Regions from separate parts of the Homo sapiens genome. Here region 2 is linked to region 1. Evidence: promoter capture Hi-C in 16 types of primary human blood cells and fetal thymus (Javierre and others, 2016). All regions are on one chromosome and are shown on one strand. Each heading gives the region's core, a stretch centred on a gene start or on the middle of the fragment in contact. The rest is flanking DNA. Distances are from core to core; before and after follow the strand shown. Region 1 holds the start of LONRF1 (LON peptidase N-terminal domain and ring finger 1). Region 2 holds the start of PCM1 (pericentriolar material 1).

Region 1 (4,610 bases), core at 1,273-3,772:
GGAAACAGATACGCTTTTCTTCTGACTCTCTTACATAACTGATCTATTTTAGAAGACAACACTCAAAAACCGAAACAGAATACAAATCTCATGATTTTACTACTTTGTTAGCAAAGAATGACACGAGCAAGTAATGCGGAAGGAAAAGGAGAGCTCTTCACTCCATTATACTTCTCCTAGCCAGGGGCAGCTTAGCAGGATTCCCTCTTCTCCATCACAGCCTGCTGGGTGACTCAGAGACCTGTCTAAATTTTAGGAAATGAACGAAGAAGGACACTAATTTTTCTCGCCTTTGAATTTAAACAAGCAGTCACATTATTGTGCAACTTTTGGATGGCAGAGAATGATGGAAGGGTGACCTGTGACAGTGCCAGTGACTGCTTTGCCTAGACTTCCTGATTCAAAGGGAAGTTATGCAGCACACAAAGGCCACAGCGGCAGTACAGCCTCTTACATAAATAAGTTACATAAATGAGAACAAGTTATGTAAATGCATAAACCAGCAAACATGAATTATAACCATTCACAAATGCCAAGGAGAACACGGTAAGATTCCTCCTACGGTCCCATTTTTTTCTCCCGCACATTATCATAATTGTGCCATTTTATTTCACATCAGAATCAGATGTGGTTGTCATATTTATTAGGAAAAGGAACTCCAAAGGACAAATAATACTTCACATTATTTTCTGAACCACATATTGTACTTTTGGCAGAAATCCCATAATAGAACCTGACTTTATATTTGAAAAGAAGTTTATGAGTGTTTATTAATTTACTATGCTCCTTGTAATAAACATGAACACATTGATTACATATTTACTGTTGTAAATTTTGCAACATGCCATTAAGAACAAGGATGCGTTACAAAAATGAATGTGCGTGTACACATGGATATTTGTTTGTGATTTCAAGTCTCAAGGGAGTATGTGGACATCAGCTGAAAGTCACTGTTCTGCTTGTTAAGGTAGTAATTTAGGGGTTAGGATTGGATTTAAGGTTATGCTCATGACTTAATCCCAATGCTTCCCATGCCAAATGCTTAGGAGGTGCTCCTTGGATCTAGCTGCAATTTGCTTCAGGTGCAATGTGAGTGATAAATGAACTTGTTTCTGTCTGCATCCTGTTGGAACAGGAGGCTTGGCTTTTTCTCAGGCACCTCTTTTTTATTCATTCCCTTTAGGGTAATATAACTCTGTCTTTTCTGACGTTACACGACTTGTTGATTGTGTAGTGAAAACACATGAACTCAAAACATTTTTTAGCCTTAATTGCCTGTTCCTTATAAAGAGAAATATTAAACGTTTACCAATTTCATACATAGCATGCTCAGGTGAACTTTCCAATTAGCAACTTCTTTTACTTTGAAAATCTCATATATTTCTATGAAATATTACATATTTTATTAAATATTACATATTAGTCTAACGTAGTAGTAGTGGAATAGACGTGATCTTAAAATCTGTATTAGCTGTGTGATTTTTGACAAATAACTTTCCCTGTGTTTCCAATCATTTGAAAAAGGACTAAAAGTCCTAAGTGACTTCCAACATTAGCGATCTAATACCCTATCATCAAATCTGTATTTTCAGCTGAGAGCTTTAAACTTGCTGCTGTGAAGTTTAAGGGAAATAGCACCCATTATATATCAACCCGATCATTTTCTTCTGTCAGCAAAACTGCAGAGCCAGCTTGGGTTGTAGTAATACGGTGACCGCCATGTGAAACATGTTTCTTGGTGTTTTCTTTTAAAACTGCCAAATATAGACCTTAACCAGCTGTAAGGCAGTGCTTGAGGTGTGGAGACACCTGAGGAAGCTGTGGGCTTTCTCCCTCGAGGTGGGCCCACGATGAGTTTTAAGCAAGACGGGCAAGCAGTCACCTGGCACCAGGAAAAACTCCTTGCCCTCTGGAGGGAGTCGCCCCAGGAACGTGGGTTTTTTGTTCATATTTAAAGTTGAGTCCTCTAGAACCGAAGAGTCCCAGTCATCTGCCGAAGGTGCGCTCCCAGGCCCCCTGCTTGGGCGCGCCCACCTGGAACATGGGCGTAGAGCTATGAAAATGCAGACCCGCACAAGCGCGAGGCCACGCGGGGAGACCCCCGCCCGCCAGGAGTTGGGGCAGGTCCGGCCTGGGCGGGGGCGTCGGGGGAGGGGTGGTGACCCGGAGTCCCGCGCGGCAGGGGAGCGTCCCCCAACCCCCGGCAGGGGCGAGGGCCACCGCAGGTGGCGGCGTTGGCAGACAGGCAAGCGGGGACTGAAGCTCCGGGGTCCTTCCGGCTTTGTTCCGTCACGAGCCGAGCCCTCCTTTCCGGAGAAGCCAATTAGATCTCCGACGGAGGAATCATCCGACCTGCGTCCCCCACCCGGAGGGGGCTCGGAAGGGGCGGGGCCCAGCGCTTGGCTCCTCGGGAGCGCGGCCGCGGGCGGCGTGGGGGAGTCCCGGGCGCCGTCGCCGAGCCCGGCCCCGCCCTCGCCAGGCCCCGCCCTCGGGGCTTCCCGGGCGCGCGCAGCCCCGCCGTGTCCGCGCGCCACGCCCCCCTGCTCGCGGGCCGCGTGCGGAGCCGCGCGCCCGGGAGGCTCCGGGACCGTGGCGGCGGGCGGCGGCGGCGCAGCCCTCCGCGGGCCATGTCCTCTCCGGCGGTGGCGAGGACCTCCCCAGGAGGGAGTCGGGAGATGGCCCCAGCGCCGCAGGGCCGAGGCCGGTTCTGGGAAGTGGGCGGCGGCAGCGGCCATCGGCTGGAGCGCGCGGCCGCGGAGTCGGAGCGCTGGGAGCTGCTGCTCCGCCGCGGGGAGCTGCTGGCGCTGGGCGGCCACCTGAAGGGCGCGCTGGAGGCGTTCGCGGCGGCGCTGCGCCGCGGGGCCCCGGCCAGGCCCGAGTGCCTGGGCGCCCTGGTGGACTGCCTGGTGTTCAACTACCGGCTCCGCCACGGGCTGGGCTGGAGCGCGGCCCCGGTTGCAGGCGCTGACGGCGGCGCCGGCGGGCTCCTCAGATGCCTGGGCTGCCGGGGCTTCCTGAGCGAGCCGGTGACCGTGCCCTGTGGCCACAGCTACTGCCGCCGCTGCCTGCGGAGGGAACTCCGCGCCCGCTGCCGCCTCTGCCGGGACCGGCTGCCGCCCGCCACCGCCAGTGCCACTGATGCTGAAGGGACCGCCCCGCGGCCGCCGCCTCTGGCCGCCGCCATCGCCGCTTCAGACTTCAGAACCAGCGTCGTCCTCAACCACCTGGCCGAGAAGTGGTTTCCGGGCCAGCGCGAGCGGGCCCGGGCGGCCGGCAGGCTCGGGGAGCTACTGCACCAGGGGCGCTACCGGGAGGCCCTGGCCGCCGCCTGCGAGGCGCTGCGAGCAGGTGACCGCGCGGGGATGCGGCGGGGCCGGGCCGACCGCACCCTCCTGGCCCCGAGGGCCGGGGACCCGGAGCTTGTCTGCGCCCCGAGAGTCTCCTCTGCTTCCCCGGGGCCGCTGGGCCGCTGGCGTGTCGGGTCTCGGGGTGCTGGGGGGTGTGGGAGGGGGCGGCGCCCCGGGGTGCTTCGGTCATAATGGGGATCGCCCTGGGAGCCGACTGTGACGCGGCGCGGGGAGGGGCGCTCGGCGCGGGGTTCCCTCGGCCGCGGCCTGGCTGTCGGGCGCGCGCTCCCGGCGCGGAGTGGGTGACCTGGACCGAGGCCGCCCCGGCGCGGGATGGGTGGTAGCTGGGCTATCCCGAGCGGCCGCTCGCTTCCTGCCGCGCGCTTTCCGGGAATTGGCTCTCGGGCCGGGCCCGCCGCGGGGAAACGACTGCCGGGGCGGGGAGAGAATCCCCCGCGAGGGCAACTAGGCCGGGCAGGCGGCGTCTCCCTTCCTCACCCACAAAAGTCACCGGGACAATTGGGAACCGCGGGAGGGCAGAATTGCATAAGCTGGGGGCGGGGGGCGTTGTGTAACGGGTGACGTCCGGTGGGCGTGGCGGGAGCTCCGCGCGGGCGCCCGGCCCCGGGAGGCCCTGCAGGCCGCCGGGCTTGGGGCTTGGGGCGGAGCTGCCCAGGGTGGTCCCTTGCTACCTGGAAATGCCTGAACTGGTTCCTCTTGAAAGTTTCAGCTGGCCTGTTTCAGATCCTGCTTATTTCCTATGTACTTTGCAGTGCACCTAGCTTATGGTAAAGATGAGAGGGGCTGCCTGATCCATAGTTCTCTGCCACGCTTCTCCTGGCCTTTCCACTTAGGATCAGGCTGTGGGGAAAGGCCTTATAGGTCTTGAGTGCATTTCTTAGTCTCCAAGAAGCAGCCTCGGCCTCCTAACCTAGGTTAGCACTTTCTTCTTAAGGTGGTTTTAGGCGCTGAAAGGGGGCAGTTTCAAGCTTCTCTTACGTAAAAGGAAGAGTTGTTCTATATAAATCAGTAGTTCTCTACCAGGGGGATTTTATCTCCCCTCTCTCAGGGGGCATTATTTAGAACAATATCTGGAGAGATTTTTGGTTGCCACCTCTTGTGGGGGTGGTGCTGGTACCGACATCTAGTGGGAGAGGCTGGGGTGCTGCTCAGACATCCTACTAGGCACAGCAGGATTCCCACAACAAAGAATTATCAGGCCCCAAGTGCCACTGTTGATAAACCTTGTGTTACGCGTATTTC
Region 2 (4,610 bases), core at 534-3,033, 5.2 Mb before region 1:
ACTAGTTTTTGCAGCTCAGAAACTGCTCCTTTCCCGCTCCACACTTCAAAGCTGTTTCCTAATTAGGATTAAAAATATGTATCACTTAAGTAAATTACTTACGCTATGAAATACAGAATAAAAAATACTTCAGTTTTGGTCTAAAGTATGTTTAGAAAGATCAAAAGAAGGGGAAAAATATAACTTATTCATATTTTAAATTTAAGTTACCTCAATTCTTTTGGAAAATAGTGTGATATGCATAAATGCTTAAATCCCCTAAACTTCTGAAATCTTACCAAACAGCAAAGTGATATCTATTTCGGAACAGTGTAACAAAGATGGTTAGCCCTAACTATCCTTTAATAGTCTATGCCAAAGTTTACTCCTCTGATTGATCGAGCTTCCTGTTACTCAAACTATGTAACAACCTCGTATATCCGATGATTTTAAAAATGTTTGCTCATTTAAAAGCTACTGTACTTCATAATAAAATAACCTCGTCACTACATAAATACCAGGTTTACCTTCAATTCAAAAACTCTGTATTATATTGGTGTTCAGGGGTCCTCACCAGGAAGGTGCTAGGGAAAGAAAGGAGCAGGTGCACCCGAGGCTCTGCAACACCCACTCCGGTAACCAGAGAACACCAGCAGGCGGAGTCTGGAAAGCGGTTATGGGGCGGGGGTGGTAGGGGCGCCCAGAAAGCCCGCTCCTTCCAGCGCCCAAACACGAACCGTCACCCGTAAGACACACAATACAGACCTCAACTCGCTCAAAAAAACAAAACAAAACAAAAAAAATTAAACCAGGCGAGTTCCTGGGGAGTAGGCTGAGGGATGCAAAGTTGGCGCGCCCAGCCTCCCTGGCGGGGCCTAATCCCCAAACGCCAGTTTCTGTAAACCAAACAACGTTTCCCCCAGTCCCACTTGGCATTTAGTCTTTCCCGGTTCTAGGCCCAATTCTAACTAGATAGGTAGGAAGGGAGAAAGAAGGGGCAATAATTACTCCATTAACCTTCCCAGGAACGCCTCCCCCGGCCCATCGGCTCCCACAGCACCAGAGACGGCGGAAATCCTGCAGCTCACAGCCCAACTGCAACTCTTCAGAGTCGCGTCGCTCCTCATCCGCCCTTCTACACCCCAAACTCTGGACACCGAGAGTTCCACAGAGGGAACGCGGGGAAGAACTATGGCCACCAAGGCCTGTTTCTCTAAGAACTCGACCCAGTGCCCCTAGCACCCAAACCAGAGTCCCCGCTCCGCTTCCTCCGCCCGCAAGGGGTATAGCCGGAGCCACCGGGACGCAGAACAGCCTCCCCGACAGGGCCAGCAGGAGGGGCGAGGAGGCAAGAAGGGAGTCCTGCAATCACCAACGCGTCGCGAGGTGCTCACCCGGGGATCCCGGCGATCAGTCCTGAGGGAGCGGGCGGACTGACCGCCTAGGGCACGGGAAGCCCGGGGCAGGAAGACCCGGGAACCTACAGAGGAGGCGTGGGCCCGTGGCCAGACCCAACAGGGCCGAGTGTCCCGGAGCCGTTACTCTCCCGCCTCTGGGGCGCGCCGCCCTAGGTTGCCAAGGGCTGGGGACGCGCAGGCATTACCTCTACAAGAAGCAGCCTCTCCTGTCAAAGGCAGAGCGACAGTCAGCCCCCACGACCCGCCGCCGGCAGCGGTCGGCCCTCGGAGACCGCAGCAGAGAGGCCCACACGTTTCCTGGCTGCCTCGGCCCCAGTGGCCGCCTTTTCGACCTCAGCTACGCAGCGCCAACCGCCGCAGCCACCGCCATCTTAGGATCTCATTGTGGTGGGAGAAGAGGGGCGGGGGTACTGCAGAGGGGGCAACGCGCGGCGGGACATGCGCCGTCTCCTCGGCAACGGCCGCGCGGGGGCGAGAACTCGCCCGGGCGGGAGCCGCAATGCGAGCTAGACTGGAGTCATGTGACCCGCCGGAGTCTGTGGTGTCGCTTCTGGCTCTTTAAGCCGAAAAGAGATTACACCAACGAATCCGCCCCCACCCGCCCAGGAACTATGTATCCCAGAATGCCAACTAGACCTCGCGTTCTAAACGCCTGCCGGCCACAGGTGGAGGACTACAAATCCCAGCATGCCGTGCGCTTCCGGCGCTGATCGCGGAGCGTGGGGCCCTAGGCCTATGCGGAAGTGCATTGATCCCTCAGCCCGTGGAGAAAGAGCGGAGGCGCTGTGCGGTTTTCCGTGGGGGTGTCAGCTCCGGCCCGTGCCGGAAGAAGGAGCCAAGACCGGGATCGCTTTTTTGCCCCTTCCTCACCCCACATTCGGTCACGAAGAGGTGGAAACAAAAGGACACTTACAATGTAGTCCAACCTCCTGATTTTACATATGAGGGGATTGTTCCACGGAAGTTAAACAATTTGCCAGACGTCATTATGTATCTACTGAGTGAGAGAATCATAAATATTGTTGATAGTTAACGCCACTTTTGGTTAATGTCCCTTTTCCTTAAAAGAGCCAGATGATTTTAATCCAAACTTAATTTCAGTAAATTTTCTCTGAACTATCTTTTTATTTATACTCTCCTGTTACAGCTCTATTAAGATTAATAAATTGGCAGGTCCTCCCTTTAAAAAACAAAAATCAATAAAGTCACAAGGCCTTCAATGTGCCTGACTGGAAAGGTAAAACACCTGTCAGTTTTAGTTGAGTGCAAGGGCATTCTTCTAGTTTTACGCAGTTTATAATTATGGAATAACTTTTTAAGCAAAATAAAGGTAAAAAGAAGAATTGCATTCTGGGTTTCAACAACAAAAACAAATTGTTCCCAAAATAGTAGGTCTGCATCTCAGTACGCAATTCACATAAAGCTCTTCTATCCCACTGCAATCTGCCACCGTAGGTTCAGTCGTGAGTGCATTGATCGTTGGTCAGACACTTTTTCCTCATATTCTGTGTGTGTATCGCTAACTACTGCGGTAGCAAAAATATAGTCCCTGCCCTTGAAGAGCTCATATTTTAGTGAAGGATGCGGAAGTGGAGTGTGATGTAAATAAAGTTTGTGTTGTAAGAAAAAGTGCTGTGGGAGCTCAGAACACAGCAGCTAAACGCTCAGGTGTTTATTGTAGTCCAGAATGCCCTATCCTAATTCCACCACTCCAAGATCCTGGACAAGCGACGTGCCTTTCTGAGCCTTAATTGCCCCATCTATGAAATGAGGGGGAAGGAATGATACTGCCTACCTTGAAAGGATTTTTTAAAAAATGTTCTCAGAGTTTGTTTTATGCCAGGCACACTGTAAAGCACTTCGGCTGTTGTGATTTTCTTGATCCTCACAGTTACCCTGAAGAGGCTGGTTCTGAATCTGACCCGTTTTGGCAATGAAAGATTATATAAATCAAACTTGTAGCAGCTGCAAGTGGTAGAGCCTAAATTTAAACGGAGGTCTATGTGATTCCTTTAAGATTTTTTTTAATTAAATACAACGCATATAAAAACACTAGTATATGTTGAGGCCCGAAATATTAGCTATCATCATTATTTTGCTTTATACATATGTATTATTATTAAACGTATGTAGAAGCTGTTATCATTAAAACAATTCTAATAAATTCAAAAGCGTGAAATTATAATACGTACTAGTCATTATGTTTTCTGAATTTATGAAGCTCCAGAATGTCAATACTATTGTTTATTAGGAGGTAGGAGGAATTTGAGAAATATTTACATTGAAATGTAGAAGCTGTTATCATTAAAACAATTCTAATAAATTCAAAAGCATGAAATTATAATATCTACTAGTCATGATGTTTTCTGAATTTATGAAGCCCCAGAATGTCAATACTATTGTTTGTTGGGAGGTAAGAGGAATTTGAGAAATATTTACATTGAAAAGGGGATCTCAAACTCAAATATGAGCATTACTGATCTTTGTAAGGGAAGAAGGAAAGAAAAAAAACAAGAAGCGATAAAATTATACCTGGCTTTCAGAAATTTAACATCTATTTTTAGAAACAAACTTTATCAGAATGAATCGACTTAGTGTTAATAGTCCGTCACTATGCCAAACAAATGATGTAGACACTGATTGCTGTGGTAATTTAGATTTTTAAAATAGGGATGTTTTGTCTCAGAGATAATGATAGCTCTAGGATTTATAGGTAGGATGAAATTAGGGGCAGCAGTCTGTGGAAATGTAGATAGGAAACAGAAGAATGGCCTCTAAGAGATAAACATTGAAACTGCCTTTCAGTTTTCCACATTCAAGAGAACAACCTAACACATGTATTAAATATGCAGGGGGTGGAAGTTCCAAATTGCAGAATGATGTTCAAGGAAGTGGGATATACCAAGAACACAGATCACACATCCAGAGTAAGCAATGGACAAAAAACAGACTGGCTGAAGTAGAGGATTTATATATGGTAAGTGATGGGGAGGTGGGAGAAGGCAAGGTTTATTACCAGGTTGGGGCCAAACTATAGAAAGTCAACTACTTATCTAAAGAGTGTGGACTTTGTTCTTCAGTTAGTGTGAAACCATTTGAGACTTTGGAAGAGGTCAATGCTGTAATGAAATGGTTATTTGAAGACTTCAATCTAGTGGCAATGTTTTGTAAAGACTAGGAAAAGAAGACAAGGAGAACAGGTGCCAACCTGTC

Evidence for each region. The method cuts DNA at HindIII sites, captures the fragments that hold promoters and counts their contacts. A CHiCAGO score of 5 or more calls a contact.
Region 2: the fragment with the promoter of PCM1 here is called in contact with the fragment with the promoter of LONRF1 in region 1 in 1 of 17 cell types (total B cells); the score reaches 7.7 in total B cells.

Annotation. Positions count from the first base shown.
Region 1 is chr8:12,753,438-12,758,047 of GRCh38, reverse strand. LONRF1 (LON peptidase N-terminal domain and ring finger 1) reads left to right here and starts at 2,522. Exons shown (of 12, transcript NM_152271.5): 1 at 2,522-3,348. The coding sequence starts at 2,628. RefSeq lists enhancers at 516-575, 2,229-3,048 and silencers at 2,024-2,693, 2,774-3,113, 3,117-3,307, 3,204-3,743, 3,794-3,873 and 1 more. The HindIII fragment of the contact is 11,195 bases long and covers 1-4,338 here.
Region 2 is chr8:17,920,161-17,924,770 of GRCh38, reverse strand. It overlaps PCM1 (pericentriolar material 1), which reads right to left and starts at 1,783. Exons shown (of 39, transcript NM_006197.4): 1 at 1,583-1,783; 2 at 1-58. It overlaps LOC124901867, which reads left to right. Exons shown (of 4, transcript XM_047422505.1): 2 at 544-614; 3 at 1,005-1,262; 4 at 1,425-3,743. The coding sequence ends at 2,107. RefSeq lists enhancers at 756-815, 1,966-2,415 and silencers at 1,277-1,571, 4,297-4,591. The HindIII fragment of the contact is 6,694 bases long and covers 1-4,610 here.